2 separate regions of the Homo sapiens genome follow, and region 2 is linked to region 1. Evidence: promoter capture Hi-C in 16 types of primary human blood cells and fetal thymus (Javierre and others, 2016). All regions are on one chromosome and are shown on one strand. The core of a region is centred on a gene start or on the middle of the fragment in contact, and the rest is flanking DNA. Distances in the headings are between cores, read along the strand shown. Region 1 holds the start of SLC35A1 (solute carrier family 35 member A1). Region 2 overlaps RNGTT (RNA guanylyltransferase and 5'-phosphatase).

What was found. Contacts are between HindIII fragments. The CHiCAGO score rates a contact against its expected background, and 5 or more counts as called.
Region 2: a contact is called between a fragment that was not itself captured here and the fragment with the promoter of SLC35A1 in region 1, in 1 of 17 cell types (naive CD8 T cells). The highest score is 5.3, in naive CD8 T cells.

Annotation. Positions count from the first base shown.
Region 1 is chr6:87,471,621-87,477,013 of GRCh38, forward strand. It overlaps SLC35A1 (solute carrier family 35 member A1), which reads left to right and starts at 1,354. Exons shown (of 8, transcript NM_006416.5): 1 at 1,354-1,399. The coding sequence starts at 1,384. LOC124901357 (a long non-coding RNA gene) reads right to left here and starts at 1,325. Exons shown (of 2, transcript XR_007059668.1): 1 at 1,153-1,325; 2 at 1-878. RefSeq lists enhancers at 1,001-1,907, 1,903-2,072, 2,123-2,222 and a silencer at 1,313-1,452. The HindIII fragment of the contact is 12,962 bases long and covers 1-5,393 here.
Region 2 is chr6:88,753,144-88,758,249 of GRCh38, forward strand. All of the region lies in intron 13 of RNGTT (RNA guanylyltransferase and 5'-phosphatase), which reads right to left. Among named protein-coding and RNA genes, the nearest start is that of RNGTT, 210 kb to the right of the region's middle. The HindIII fragment of the contact is 6,935 bases long and covers 1-5,106 here.

The sequences.
Region 1 (5,393 bases), core at 104-2,603:
GTAGAGGAAAAGTCCAACACTATTGCAAAATGAGATTAATCAAATGTCTGCCTCTACAAAGTCAACTCTGGTCTCCTGGGAGCCCCTCCCAATATTAATATGATGCTAATAAGGCATGCAAAATGTTCCAACAATGTTAACAGACCAGATATATCTATATGTATATTTAACAAGACAATGGTATACAACCAACCCTCTAAAAGGACAATTTTGGGGAAAGAACATGCTGCAGAAGGTGTGGGCTGCTGGGCAGCTCAGAATCTTGCATCCCTATTCCTGTAAGTGCTGAGGTATTTTCATATTATTTTAAACCAATCCACATATCTTGAACATCATTTATTTCACCAATGAATTATTTCTAATATCAATTATGATAGCTAATTAACATCCCCTAGTGAAAGTGGAGATTATAGTGGTTAAAATGCCTGTTGATATATCTAATTTTTTTTGTTTTTTGAGACGAAGTCTCGCTGTGTCGCCCAGGCTGGAGTGCAGGGGCGCAATCTCGGCTCACTGCAATCTCCCGGGTTCAAGTGATTCTCCCGCTTCGGCCTCCTGAGTAGCTGGGATTACCGGTGCGCGCCACCACGCCCGGCTAATTTTTTGTATTTTTAGTAAAGACGGGGTTTCGCCATATTGGCCAGGCTGGTCTCGAACTCCTGACCTTAGGTGATCCATCTGCCTCGACTTCCCAAAGTGCTGGGATTACAGGCGTGAGCCACCACGCCCGGCCGATACATCTGATTTTTTAAAGGCCGTTTTGTTGTGCGAAGATCATTAGTTAGAATGCCTGGCTGGGTAAATACAACCGATGACTGCTGACGATATGGAACAGGCACAAGACTTCTGAACGATATGTAGAATAAATTATAACTTATCTAGAACACAAGGTAACAGTGGAAGATAATGAGCCAGGTGGAAGTTACAAATGTTGCCGCAAGTAGTTTCTGTTACTTTACGAGTTCTGGGAGCTTCTCTAACAGCTTTGACAGGAGTGAATCCCCAAGGCTAAACCCAAATCCTTATTTGCCGCCTACTCACGCCTTTGTGAGGACTACGATTCCCAGACGGCAACGCTCCCTTCACTCAACTTCCTTAGCTGGCGGGGAGACGCAGTTTACAGAACTACCTCCCCAACCGAATTTCACACACCTGTCACCTAGGACGCGGCCGGGAAGGCCTCCCTTCGATCCGCGTTCTCCCCATTTTGGGGTGTAGCTTGGATTCCTGAGCCCAGTTTTAGTGCGTGGCCGACCGGGAGGCCGGCGAGGCGCTCTAGGCCGAGCGGCTTCGTCTCTATGACCACAAGGGGCGGTCCCCGGTGTCCTGCGCGGGGGCGCGGAGGGGGCGGGCGTCAGTTCCGCGGGGGGCTGTCGGGGAACCATGGCTGCCCCGAGAGGTGAGAACTGGGTCTGCTGGGAGTGGGGAGTCCGCGGGGGGCGGCGGCGGGCGAGCATCTGCGCTGGTCAGCCCCTGTCGGGCAGCGGAGCACCCTGGTTGCCCAGTGCCTCTGGGGCCTGGCTGAGGCGTCAGGAGTTTGCGTGGAGCCGCTCCCGGCAGTCAGGGCAGCCTGCCTTCCGCTGCGGCTGCAGTCTCCGCGGCTGACTCCGCGCTGGGCAGGTCGGAGTCAGAGACCGCACTGACCTCCACTAGCTGGGAGTGGGTGGGAACCGAATTCTGACAGGCCGGGGCTGCGGCGGACCCGGAGAGAGGCCAGGGCGTGGGTCCGGGGCTGGACCGCATTACCCAGCGAGGCAGGACAGTTCTTCACCCTGGCCCCGCGGCTCCGGTCTCCTCTGCGCCTCCTACCCTGTGGATGCTCAGAGGCTTAAAGGCAGGCTCCGGGCGCAGATCCCATGCGGCGGCTGGGCCATGCAACAACCACTAAAGACATCACTGGGGCGTCAAAACAGCACTGAAATCGTAACGAAAGGAAGATAACAGTCGTTAACAGTTCCCACCTGTATGCTGTGTGTAATTATAGAGAATGCTGTATGCTGCTATTTGGGGTGGAAGCTGAGATCCACCTCCCTCCTCCTGAGGGATGGCACATTCGGGTGAAGGCGTATTTGTTGACTAATTGACATTTAAGGAGGGCGAGTCTAATTGACTCCGCACCACTTTTTGCTGAGCAGTGTGTGTAAGTTGGGACCAGAGGTGGATTCTTTGACTGTGGTGCATTAACCAGGAGAAGTTGGGCAACACCCGGATTCTTGCTCCACCCTTCCTCCATAGAGCACTTGGCTTCACCCTTGAATAAATATTGAACGAATACATAAGGAATATCTTCTTGCGTGGGTTTCAAGTTATTTTCCCTGTTGCGGGGTCCATGTTTCTCATCAGGCCCTGCCCAGGGGCATTGTCTTTAGTTGCATATGCTTCTCTTATGTCTTCTTTCTGTTTCATTTCAAATAAGTCCAATCTTAAAAGCCTTTTTTTGTAGCAACACAGGAAATAAAAGAAAAAGAAATAGAATTGTTTTGATAACTAAAATGGAATGGGGATAGCAAAATTGATCCGAACGAAAACTTATAAATTACAGAAGTCAAATCATTACTTGAAATAGCTGCAACAATGTAAAGGTTTAGGCTTATTGCCAATACATATTTGTTGAGCCTTGATTGTAATCCTAACAAAACTACAGTTTCCATAGTTTCCGAATATCCACAAAGGATTTATCTGGGACTTACAGAATTTCTAAGTTCTTAAGTATTACAAATAATGTCCCCATAAACTATAGTAAAACATAACCGAAAAAAAACATTTTAAACTGTAAGTTTCTTTTGGGGGACATTTCCACACAAACACTATATGGGAGCTAATAGAATTTCGTGAGAAGCAGGGAACAATGCAGGGTTAAGATGTGGCTGCCAGTTGAGTTGTGGGCTAGCTTTATAGTTACTGGCATTGGGTGTGATTTGAATTATTTGCCCAATTTGAAGTGATTACATATGGACTTTTGCTGTTACCCTGAAATAATTGAAATTGCTAATAACTGAAGTTTTATACTGGAGAATTTGTGAATGGAGTGAACAAGAAATAGTTTGGTCTGATGTTAAACTGCCAGAGAAAATCGTACTTAAAAACATTTAGTATTTAAAAGTTGAAATACGTTTAAAAACTGGTATTCCATGTCAAAGCCCAATCTGTTTTGCACATACCTAAACTTATTTGATTACCCTTCCACTTAGATCAGTAGTTATTTTCAAGAATATAATATATATTCCCATATACTCACTATGCAAAAAGGTATTTTTTCAAGTTAATGACAATATTATAAGTCAGAATATGTTTGTAGGCTATCAATATTTGGTTTAGTGTTTAAATATTCACTTTGTTGTTTTTGGAATCAGGAACCTGTACAGTAGCTAAAATAAAGTACTTTTTAGTTTATCAGCCCTAACTTCTCTTATTTATGAAAGTGTTGATAATCTAGGACATGAGATGGCAAACTTTTCCTGTGAAGGGCTGGATAGTCTCTTGTCATAACTACTCAGATCTGCTGTTGTAGGGAAAAAAAAGTAGCCTGGATAATTTAGAAACAAATGAGCATGGCTATGTTCTAATAAAACTATTCATGGACACTAGAATTTGAATTTCCTGCAATTTTCACATATCACAAGATGTTATTACATTTTTTATCAACCATTTAAAAATGTAAAACAATCGTGAGTTCACAGGCCTCATGTAAACTGGCGACATATATAGTTTGTTCACCCTTTATCTAGAAGATGGGAAGTGCCTTCTCTTCTACTGATTAAAGGTTATTGCTGTATATTTTTGAAGTCATATTTCTTCCCTTGTGTAGGAAAGTTTTAGAACAAAGGAAGTATTATAGTGATCTCCTTCACTTCCTTTTATATAAACACTGATTTTTTGGCTCCTCAGATCTTTTGGAAAGAAAGTTTAAGCAGTTAAAAACTATTTCTTCTGTTTTACTTTTTATTTAAAACCTGATATGGTTTTTAAAAATTGCCTACAATTCAGAAAATATTCTTTAATGCACTCGGGAAAATATTTATATTGAAGAACCTGTTTCCTTGTAAGATCCAACCATACTGTATCTAAAGATAATCTGTTTGAAACTCCTGTTTTATTTCCCTATGAAAACTATCTTTGAATTGTGATTAGGCTCCCAAAGCAGTGAACAAAATCTTACTTAGCATATAATGTAGTTAAAGTAGCAGGCTGGAGTCACCTGGTGTCCTTCTGGTTCTTAACCTGGAGTTGTCAAAGTATGGCTCTGGAAAGCCTAAAATATTTGTTTCTGGCCCTTTGCAGAAAAATTTGCTGATCCCTGTTTAACCTTGAGCCTAAAGATTTGAATGGAGGTGAAGGGGAACTGGGGGACAATAGGTGGGAGGTGGGTGAGGAAAGTAGAAATAGTTTGATCCTTGGGTGATGGCAGTACCCGAGCAGGTCTGGGAATAAGGAAGTATGAGGGAGACTTGGTACCCACTGCTTATGGTTTTACCAAAGGTCTTGGACAGGCTCTGGTGCCTGAGAGATGGCTGCTGCTCAGATATACTTGCAGGCAATTCTTAAATTAAGTGTTTATATGTTTCCTGCATTTCTAGTTTTATAGAGGTGTGTTCTTAATATTCTTTTCCTGTGTTATGAATTATTGTTTTGTATAATGCAATGAAATGAGTGGCTAGTTGTAAGTTCTTATTGTGAAAAAGTTTTATATTAAGCCCCACTCATTTCTCAATTATTATTTTCTTTCTGCTGCCTTTAAATCTAGAATATACATTGCTGCAGTTGGTTTCATGCTTTGCATCCACAAGTTTGTAATCATAAAAATATTTAAAATATGTGCTGGGGCCAGGCGTGGTGGCTAATGCCTGTAATCCCAGCAGTTTGGGAGGCCGAGGTGGGTGGATCACCTGAGGTCAGGAGTTCGAGACCAGCCTGGCCAACATGGTGAAACCTCTTCCCTACTAAAAATACAAAAATTAGCTGGGTGTAGTGGCGGGTGCCTGTAATCCCAGCTGCTCAGGAGGCTAAGGCAGGAGAATTGCTTGAACCCGGGAGGTGGAGTTTGCAGTGAGCCGAGATCACGTCAAGATCATGCCACTGCACTCCAGCCTGGGTGACAGAGTGAGACCCTGTCCTAAAATATATGTCTGGCACGGTGGCTCACACCTGTAATTCCAGCACTTCAGGAGGCGGAGGTGGGCGGATCACTTGAGGTCAGGAGTTAGACACCAGCCTGGCCAACATGGGGAAACCCCATCTCTACTAAAAATGCAAAAAATTAGCTGGCTGTGGTAGTGCACGCCTGTAGTCCCGGGAGGCTGAGGCACGAGAATCGCTTGAACCTGGGAGGTGGAGGTTGCAGTGAGCTGAGATCGCGCCACTGTATTCCAACCTGGGGGACAGAGTGAGACCTT
Region 2 (5,106 bases), core at 2,076-4,575, 1.3 Mb after region 1:
AATGGAAACATTCCTGTTTAGGAAGACATAAGAAGAAATAATGGTTATGAAAAAATAATAAACTTACTCCTTACCAACATAATCTAAGGCCAGGCACAGTGGCTCACACCTAGCACTTTGGGAGGTTGAGGCAGGAGGACTGCTTGAGCCTAGGAGTTGAGAACAGCCTAGGCAACACAGTGAGACCCTATCTCTACAAAAATTTAAAAATTAGCCATGTGTGGTGGCATGTGCCTGTAGTCCCAGCTACTCAGGAGCCCAAAGGCAGGAGGACTGCTGGAGCCTGGGAGGTTGAGGCTGCAGTGAGCTGTGTTCACACCACTGCACTCTAGCCTAGGCAACAGAGTGAGACCCCTGTCTCAAAAAAAAAAAAAATTATATAAAACTACTTGAACTGATAGAAAAGTTCTGAAAAAGGAATAAAGCTGGGTATGAAATGACTGTCAATACCAATTCCAATTAAAATACAGAAAAGTTTAAATAATTGTTAAATATTAATCCACCCAAAATGCAACCGTTTAAATAGTAATGATTTAAATAATTGTTAAAAATAGAATTATATAATTAAAATATAAATGCAAGAAAACTTTTTGAAAGAAAATAAAAACACAATATACATGATTTTATCTAAAATCATAGATTATACTGACAAAGAGCAGCAAAAACAGAGGAGTAGCTGAATACTCTGAGCTTCTTACTAGGGACAGGGTTTCACTCTAGATTCAGATATTTAGAAAGTACGGGTTAAAAAGGCCTTGACAAATGTAAGGATGATTACAAATAGAAGTTAAAATAGAACATATGGCATTAGACCATAAAGAAAATCTTTATTCTGCCCATCTCCTCCCTAGAAGGGAATTGTTCAGAACATTCTTGTCATAATTTATAAAATAAGAAAAGAAACAATAAAGTCAAAAAAGAGAAGACAAAGACTACTTGGAAATTAAAAATAAACTATTAAGGATCCTAGGAAGATGATAAATCTAAACATGTCTGACTTCTCCTCATACCCAACTCCAAAATATCAGCCTGTGAATCCAAGTGTCTACTGAGTAAAGTGAGGTATGAAATTCGAGGGCTTCCTAGCAGGGGAAATGATTGAGAAGACCCTAAAGACAAAGATTGGAAAATTAGCAAATCCTGAGAAGAGTACAGGCCACTGAAATCTAAAAACCCTAGAGATCAGGTCAACATTGGCCCCAGGTCATGTGCCTGACCTTCCTATGGGCTGAACATATTTGAAGCCTAAGATGAAACACTTTACAGAGTAGAGGATGTAGGGAACATTTCTCCAGTTATGATCCACCAAGATAAAGAACACATATATTTCCTTCTTGTGTAGACTGCCACCACTTAGAGCACTCCAAAAACCAGATTTGAGCCCCAGTGAGCCAATAAGGAAAATGGGAATAAAGTAACTTGTTGGGAACAGGCACCCAAATCTGGCCATAAACTGGCCCCTAAACTGGCCATAAACAAAATGTCTGCAGCACTGTGACATGTTCGTGATGGCCATGATGCCCCCGCTGAAGGCTGTGGGTTTACTGGAATGAGGTCAAGGAACACCTGGCCTACCCAGGGAGGAAAACCACTTAAAGGCGTTCTTAAACCACAAACAATATCATGAGTGATCTGTGCCTTAAGGACATGTTCCTGCTGCAGATAACTAGCCAGACCCATCCCTTTATTTTGGCCCATTCCTTTGTTTCCCATAAGGAATACTTTTAGTTAATCTATAATCTATAGAAACAATGCTCATCACTGGCTTGCTGTCAATAAATATATGGGTAAATCTCTGTTCGAGGCTCTCAGCTCTGAAAGTTATGAGACCCCTGATTTCCCCACTCCACACTCTATATTTCTGTGTGTGTCTTTAATTTCTCTAGCGCCACTGGGTTGGGGTCTCCATGACCGAGCTGGTCTTGGCAGAAACCTGTAAAGGAGCCAAAAGGCAATTAGAAGGAGAAAAGAACTGCACCCCAAGAATTCTATATCCAGGTAAGACATGATTTGCCTGTCTGGAAAAAGGAAGACGTTAGCAGTTAGGCAAAAAATTCAGATTAAAAATCTATATATTCCCATCTGAGAAAATTACTCCAAAGAACAAATGAATGTGAACAAGAAAGAGAAAATGAAGAAAAGGAAAAAGTGGTAGGTGACAAATCTTGCAGTATATAAATGCCATTAAATTTAAATTGAACCCAATTTAAATTTAGATCCAAACAATTTAGATCCAAACAAAACAAGATCCAAACAAAAAAATTCTTGAAATAAAAGTGACATTCATGTCTGTAAGAGAAATTCATAAAACAAACAAACAACAACGACAAAAAAAAACTACTAAGTTTTTTCAGTAATACCTGTAGGGATTGGGTTGGGGAAAATGTTCCAGTAAAATTTTCCAATAAAAGCTAGGGGGGAATGGGTGGTGAGAATAAAAGCATGCCAAAGACTTCTAAAGTAAGAAGAAAGGTAAGGTATTAGAAACTATTCTAAAATTTCTATATGATGAGGGGAGGATGAAAAGAACATCTTGAGGCTGGGCATAGTGGATCACACCTGTAATCCCAGGACTTTGGGAGGCCAAGGCAGGTGCATCACGAGGTCAGGAGCTCAAGACGAGCCTGAACAAGATGGTGAAACCCCATCTCTACTAAAAATGCAAAAATTAGCCAGGCATGGTGGCGGGCGCCTGTAATCTCAGCTACTTAGGAGGCTGAGGCAGAGAACTGCTTGAACCTGGGAGGCAGAGGGTGCAGTGAGCCAAGATTACACCACTGCACTCCAGCCTGGCCAACAGAGTGAGACTCCGTCTCAAAAAAAAAAAAAAAAAAAAAAAAAGAACATCTTGGTGGGGGAGAGTTGGTACTTTATTTTCAAGTAATAACAGAGAAATATATCTGATTATGAATATAAGGAAAGGAAAGGTAACCAATAATATAATGAAAAGTTAATAGACAGTTCAGGTTAACAAAGAGGAAAATGCAACTAATACCAATTATCACACAGAAACAATTTTTTAAAAAGGAAAGTTAAAGAGGTAAAATTAGGCCGGGCTTGGTGGCTCATGTCTGTAATCCCAGCACTTTAGGAGGCCGAGGCAGGGGGAACACAAGATCAGGAGTTCAAGACCAGCCTGGCCAACACGGTGAAACCCCATCTCTACTAAAAATACAAAAATCAGCCAGGCGTGACGGTGCGCGCCTGTAATCCCAGCTACTCGGGAGACTGAGGCAGGAGAATCACTTGAACCAGGGCGGCGGAGGTTGCAGTGAGCCAAGATCATGCCACTGCATGCCAGCCTGGGTGACAGAGTGAGACTCCATCTCAAGCAAACAAAAAAGAGGTAAAATTAATAAACAAAGTAGAAGGAATAAAGCGACATACTTTAGCATACAAATGTTGAATGGACTAAATTCTTGTGTTAAAAATAAGAGGCTACAGACTGAGTTAAATAAAACCAACTATATTTTCAAGTACACACTTAGAAAGTAAAGGAATTTTTCCAATGAAGGATTGAGTTTGATGCTTGAAAATAATGACTATATTGACTACATACAAATTATGCTTTATAATTACATTCTTAATAGATAACCTCCAGGTTTTAACAAGACAGCATCAAATCAGGAAAACTCAAAAAACATGGCTTTGGGGTTTACTCTAGTTTGTTCACTTGGAGCTAAGTGCTAGCAACGTCGGGGAAACTGTCCAGAGTGAAGGTCAAGGAAAACGCTGGATGGACAGGTTGGGAGAGTGAAGGTTATTAGCTTTTTATGACTCTTGTATCCTCAGACTAAAACCCTAAAAAAATTACACAATTTTATCACAAAAAAACAAATTGTCTTTAATGAACCACTTTTCAGTTTTAACAACTAACATCCACTATGCCACACTGCTACATTACCAACTAATTTCACAAAAGGACTAGTCATCAAACACGTAACCACACACTGATACACTATAAATGTATATCAGTTACTGGTCCCTGAGGATATGTGATCATGTATTTGCTATGTCCGAAAACCAGAGGATCTCAGCATGATAGTTTTGGCAATGACCTACCACAGTGAAACAAAAAGGATGGAGATACATGAATGGGAGAAAAGATCCACAACAAATTCAAGGAAAAGCAAGCAGGACAGGTAGTATTAGTATCAAGCTAGGATGAATTTAGGATTAAAAGCAATAAAAAGAAGTACATGATTTAATAACAAAAAGCATGATTTGGGTGACAGAAATATCAATTGTATATCTGGAGAAATCAAACCTAGTATCTAAATACAAAGGTATTAAATATGCAAAGCAAACTTAATTATAATGTAAGGCTTCAAGTATCTCTTATATGGGGTAGAGCTAGTAAAGAGAGTAAAGGAATTTACTAATATAAACTTTAATACTTAATTGCATAATCAAAGAGAAAATGTTGTATTCTTTAAATAGTAAAAATAATTTCACTGTTGTTATGTCTAAGAAATATCCAGAAAAGACAACATATGATGTTATAGACAAGATTAACAAAATGTTTTCAAAAGATTTTACAGACTAAATTTTCTGATTAAATTCAATGAAAGTAGGAACAAATAACAAAACATAACAAAATACATTTGGTTGAAAAGACAAAGACATATTTTGAAGTCACACTATAAGATTTGAAGTCACACTATAAGTTTTGACAGGCCAACCATGTAGCTAAATTTTTTGAAAGTTAATTCTAAACTCTTTGAAATTTTCCAACCTCAGATTCCAAAAAGCAACTTTTACTCCTATTGTTACATGTTTAAGTAACAGTCTTAGGCAATCTTCATCTGTCATATAAGCATTATCTTAAGTTTCAGTATACCATACATCAGACACATGGTTATTTAAGTGATTTAAAAGATTTCAAAACTATTTTTAAATGATTTCATATCTGTTTTTTCTTCTGTGCTTCAAATTCAGTTATCTCAGATTGTTTTTACTTATTTGATAGTCTTTGTCTCTATATTGCTTCATTTTAAAAGGTCAATGCTCCCTCCTCGTAAGAGAGAGAAAAACAAAAAGCCCTTAAGTGATTAACGTTTGGCAAAAGTGTTTGTGAATTGTTCCTTAATAATTACAATTTTTGAT